2 separate regions of the Homo sapiens genome follow, and region 1 is linked to region 2. Evidence: promoter capture Hi-C in 16 types of primary human blood cells and fetal thymus (Javierre and others, 2016). All regions are on one chromosome and are shown on one strand. The core of a region is centred on a gene start or on the middle of the fragment in contact, and the rest is flanking DNA. Distances in the headings are between cores, read along the strand shown. Region 1 holds the start of PDZK1IP1 (PDZK1 interacting protein 1). Region 2 holds the start of MOB3C (MOB kinase activator 3C).

Region 1 (2,700 bases), core at 67-2,566, 570 kb before region 2:
CCGCTGGAGCAGGAAGGCAGAATCAACCTGCCATAGGAAGGGTTGCCCAGGAGGCCTGATGAATAGGAGTTTGGTGGCTTCAGGGAAGAGAGGCTGTGGAGGTGCCTTCAGCTCAGGTGCTGGCTCCTGGGGACCTTCCATCTCTGATGAGACTTTGTTCCAGTTGGCCCGCTCCTTTCTAGGGAGTCAGCATCTCAGCTTCCCATACTTCTGGGGTGGGGGGTGGGGCAAGGAGACCAGCATGACCCTTGGTCAGGGGCTTGCACAGGAACTCTGGCCATTCTCATTCCCTGAGCTGGAGGGCCAGGTGGACACCACGTGATCCTGGGGAGGCTTTTGCCTCTTCCGAGGGCTCTGGCTCCAGGGCCTCCCTGTTCCAGGGGCTAGGTGTGCCTTCCTCAATGCTGCTTTTGGCTATGAGGGTGACGGGCCCAGGGCTTCAGGGCCCCAGATCGCACCTTGCCATCTGGGGTGTCCGTCCTTTGTCCCCCACAGCAGGCTGTGTTTGCCCATTTTCTCCTCTGCCATGGGTGGAGATGGATCTGAAGTTGGGTGTTGAAGCCTCTGACCAAGGCTGTATCTTGTTTTGAGGCCCTGCCCGGTTTCCAGGGACCACATCTGGGGCCAAGAGGAAGAACCGAACTGGGACTAGGTTAGCTGTGCTGGGTCAGGGCCTGGGCATGGGCTGTGAAAGCTGGGGACTGGGACCTTCAGGCCCTCTATTGAGATCTTTGCAGAAGGGGGTGGATTTAGGAAGCTACTGGGCTGGGCCAGGGCGTGGAAGGCACTGAAGCCGTAGTGTGTCCCAGCATTAGAGTCCCAGAGTTTAGCTTGGCGGGGCAGGGGCAGGTGGTGGGGAGAACAGGAAATAGGCCAGGCTCTCGGCGGAGTCTGGCAGCTTTGAGCCTTCTCTGGGCTTCTGGGGTTTTCCCCAGGCTCCTGAGCCAGCCAGGACATTTCTTAATCCCACTGTCAGCCTTCCAAGAAGCCCCGCCCACTGGGCTCAGTCAAGGCAGGAGCGACTGTGTGTCACCCCTTTCCCTAGAATCCAGCCCCACTGCCAGGAAAAGGGAGCTCAGGGCATGGAGGTGAGGCTGGGACTCTCCCACATCTGCTTGTTCCTCATACCCACCTCCTTAGCTGGCCCCTGGAAGATGACCTCGAATGCCAGCCCAAGTGAGCTGGGCACCAGCCAGGGGAGGCCAGGTCTGGCAGCTCATTACCATGGGAGGGAGGGCACGTTCTCTCCGACGCCCGTCTTCGTGTCTCCTCCCTCCCTCGCCTTCCTCCTTCCTAGCTCCTCTCCTCCAGGGCCAGACTGAGCCCAGGTTGATTTCAGGCGGACACCAATAGACTCCACAGCAGCTCCAGGAGCCCAGACACCGGCGGCCAGAAGCAAGGCTAGGAGCTGCTGCAGCCATGTCGGCCCTCAGCCTCCTCATTCTGGGCCTGCTCACGGCAGTGCCACCTGCCAGCTGTCAGCAAGGTAGCTCAGGAGGAGAGGGCTGGGCACGGGAGACCCAGGGGTGGACAGGTGGTGTTCTGGCTCCCCTCCCCAGGGCCTTGATACTTACAGTTTGGAGGGGGAGCAGGGACTGCGCTAGCTGAAAGAATGTCCCAAGGCAGAGACCTCTGAACCAAGTCTCTGCCTGTCACTTGTTTTCAACGAGTGAAAACTGGCAGCAGTTGGTTCTAGGATCTCAGGGAGGAACAGGATTTGAGGCCCAAGCCCCAAGAGCAGGCATTGCCCAAGGGATGGCTGGGTCCTGAGTACAGGGGACCCGGGGGTACAAGTAGGGTGAGAGTGGGGCCCAAGCCACCCCTCAAAGACTTGGGCTTTGTCTCGGCCTCTTGGGCTTGGATAGAGAACAGTGCCCAGTGTGACTCCCCCAAATATCTGACCTCTTCGTCCTGCTCTGCCTGAATGGATGTGTGACCTTGAGCAAATCACTGCCCCTTCCTGAGACTCAGTTTTCTCACCTATAAAATGAGAACAATAAACCCCACCCTGCCCACCTCCCAGGGCTGCTGCCAGGTCAGAGGTGAAGAAGGGCTTTGCACCTGGTGAAGTAACTAACCCAAGGTCTGGCTTTCATTCTACACTGTCAGGCTGCATCTGCAGCCAAAGTCTGGGGACTCTGCAGGTGGGACTTGGTCCAGAGGGGACTGGCAAAGATGCTTTCAGAGCTCCCCTCCCACCCCCACCCCGAGCTCTTATGTGTGTCTGCTTCAACTCTGTCTCCCAGGTCTTGGAAGCCCTCTGGGGAACTGCAGACCAGAGAGGTTGAGTCACAGAGCACGGCAAGAAAGGACAGGGTTCAGACCACCTTTCTCCTGCCCCAGACACTGCCCCTTGCTGTATGTGCATGGGAGGAGGAGCAGGGACTGTGGTCCCTGGGGTGACTGGAGAGAATTGGCTGCAGGGTCTAGGAGGAAACAGGGAGGGGCCTCCAAGGGTTGAGCCCTAACTCCCCATGCTTGAGCAACCACTGACCTGAGGGAGCAGTCTGAACCCCTAGGGAAACAATGACTCCCAAATACTGCTTTTTGGCAGGTGTGGAACTGAGGGTAATCACACTGTGTGTCTTCTGCTTCCCCTGGAGATAAGTGAGGTCTGACCTCACTACAGGCCAGAGAGTTCCTAGCCTCCTTCCTCCTTCCCAATATTTGCCAGGCTCGGAGAAGAGGTCAGGCCTCCAC
Region 2 (2,700 bases), core at 173-2,672:
AAAGAACATACCCACAGTTCTATGAGCTGGGATTCTTTCTTTACTTTTATTTTAGGTTCAAGGGTACATGTGTAGGTTTGTTATATAAGTAAACTCTGTGTCATGGGGATTTGGTGTACAGATAATTTCATCACCGAGGTAAGCAGCATAGTACCTGATGGGTATTTTTGTCTCATCCTCCCTCCTCCCGCCCTCCACTCCCAAGCAGGCCCCAGTGTCTGCTGTTCCCCTCCTAGTATCTATGTATTCTCATTGTTTAGCTCCTACTTGTAAGTGAGAATATGCAGTATTTGGTTTTCTATTCCTGTGTTAGTCTGCTTAGGATAATGGCCTCCAGCTCCAGCCCATGTTGCTGCAAAGGATATGATCTGGGTTAAGGATCTAGCGTGTTCTCATGTCATCCAGCAACAGAAGGTCCAGACACAAGGGAGGTCCAGTGTGCCATGGTAAATGCCCACCTCTGGCCTCCAGCTCTCCCCTACCCGCATCTACTCACCTCCCACCCCTCCAGAGTGGCTTCTATGGCTAAGCTCTCTGCTTTGGGCTTCCTACCCTAGAAAGCCTCCAATCTTCCCTCCCATCCCAGACAGAGCAGCCAACTGGTCCCTGGGCCTGGGGGCCACGGTGTGCATTGAATGCTGGTGGGATATCTGTCTGTCCTCGAAGGAACCCAGGTGGTAGGGAGAGCAGATCAGATCTTGAGTGGTTTGGATTTGTCAGAAGGAAGGAGGGAGAGAAGGTATTCTAAAATGGAACAGCTGGGATAAGGGTCTGGAGATAAGAAATGGGGTGACTCTGGGTAAGGAGCAAGGAGAATCAGCCCAACCTGAGCCAGGCCCCCTCCCTGGTGAGGAGATGAAGTTTGTGATTTGAGCGCTCTTCTGGGGCTTGTCCCTCAGGGGTGAAGGACTCAGCTCATGATTCCCAAGGCGTTCATTTATTCCTTCACTCACCCATTCATTCATTCATCAAGTGGGTTTTGAGTTCCTGCTATGTGCCAGGAGCTGAGGATATGGGAGTGGATAGGACGGTCCCGATCCCTTATTGGGTCCCGGGACAAGTGTGACGCAGACGATTCTAGGAGGGCAAAGAAACCACCCTTATCTAGCAGCTCTTGTTTCTGCTCCAGAAGAAGCCGAGCGTTTTCCCATTTTACTGTCTGGGAACTTGAGGCTGCCTCCTTGGTGGAGGTCCAAGGAAGCACCGAGAGGGCGGGCAGCTCAGTTAGTCCTTTGTCCAAGGGGAAGCTGGGAGCCCCATATGGACTTTCCGGGAAGGTGGGGGCGAGTGCGTCTGTGTACTGGAGTGGAGGGGAGTCCCCTTTCTCCGCCCCTCCCCGCCCCGTGGCCGCGGCGTGGCGGGGCCGGGGCGGAGCTGGCGTCGCCCGGGGCAGGAGGGCAGCCGCGGCCGGCAGGACAGGCAGACGGACAGGCTGACAGGAGAGAGAACAGGCACTGCGGGACCTGCAGGAGAAAGGCGATCCTGTGGCTGGGAATGTGACCCCACGGCCAGAAGAGGACCCGTGAGTGTGCGCCGTGCCCCTGCGGCCTCGCCGCGCACCCCGCCCGCCTGGCTTCCACTTTCATTTCTTCGGCCGTCCTGGCGTGGCACAGTCCGGAGGAGAGTCCCGCCCGAAGGCAGGCTGGCCGCTGTCCTGAGGCTGGCGTCCGAGGCTCAGAGCTTCGAAAGTTGCGGGGGGGATTGTCGGGGTGGGGGAGTACGGGGCAGAGGGGAGGGGTTGGGGGGCGTGTTTTCGGGGAGCGGAAATGTCAGGCGGGCTCCTCTGGGTCCTACGACCTTCCTGGCCCTGGGAGCTGGTTTGAGGTTGCAGGGAAGCCGGGGGTGGGCGTGGGTGGCTGCGCGCCGCGAGGAGAGCGTGGAGTCTTCGCCTCTACTTTTTCTCTTCGACCTCTGTCCTAGAGAGAGTCCCAGGATGGATTCTGGGTTCAAACTGGGGCCATCCTCTGGCCCAGATCCTGGGCCAGGCCCAAGGAGTGGTAGATGTAGCCTAGCAGGGGGCTAAATATCAGAAACAGGTAGGGTCAGCCTGCTGTCTTCATTTGAGAAGCCCAGATCCGCACCCAGGGAACGAGCAAGGCACTGCCACTCCAGGAGTGAAAGGATAGCCATCACTGGGAAATGGGGGCTAGGACGGGGAACGGCAGTGGTTCAGGGAGAGACAGAGGTTCTGTGACAGATAGAAACTCAGTGAGGGCATGGGGGTGGGGAGTGAAGGGAGTTAACCCTGTGGCTAGAAGAGCACCTGCCCTGCACCCACCCCCTGAGCTTACATTTTCCTGGAAAGAGACCCAGGCCTTGAAGTTCCACAGGAGTAAGGTGGAACTCTAGCTCACTGGTCAGGACACCCCAGTTGCTGTGCGGAGTCAGTGTGTTGGGGACAGGAAGCAGGTTGGGCTGTTTGGTGGAGAAGATGCTTCCACTGTCCCTCCACTCCCCTCCTCTTCTCTGTCTCCACCAGACCATTGATGAGCCAGTGCAGGAAAATGGTCTTTTACTCTTGGTCATGAGCTGAGCCCCACCTTATCCCAGTTCCCAGTTCTGCTTGTAACTTGCTATGTGGACACAGGCTCCTCAAGTCCTCTTTTTAGGCCTCAGTTTCCTCATCTGGGCCTCAGTTTCCCCATCTGTACAAGTGAGTTGGGCCAGCTGATCTATCAGGGCTATTTTAACTCTAAGATT

Evidence for each region. Contacts are between HindIII fragments. The CHiCAGO score rates a contact against its expected background, and 5 or more counts as called.
Region 1: the fragment with the promoter of PDZK1IP1 here is called in contact with the fragment with the promoter of MOB3C in region 2 in 2 of 17 cell types (megakaryocytes and erythroblasts); the score reaches 5.7 in megakaryocytes.

Annotation. Positions count from the first base shown.
Region 1 is chr1:47,188,652-47,191,351 of GRCh38, reverse strand. It overlaps PDZK1IP1 (PDZK1 interacting protein 1), which reads left to right and starts at 1,316. Exons shown (of 4, transcript NM_005764.4): 1 at 1,316-1,486. The coding sequence starts at 1,420. RefSeq lists a silencer at 741-1,035. The HindIII fragment of the contact is 10,710 bases long and covers 1-2,700 here.
Region 2 is chr1:46,615,533-46,618,232 of GRCh38, reverse strand. MOB3C (MOB kinase activator 3C) reads left to right here and starts at 1,422. Exons shown (of 4, transcript NM_201403.3): 1 at 1,422-1,522. RefSeq lists a silencer at 1,248-1,527 and an enhancer at 1,928-1,997. The HindIII fragment of the contact is 4,243 bases long and covers 1-2,700 here.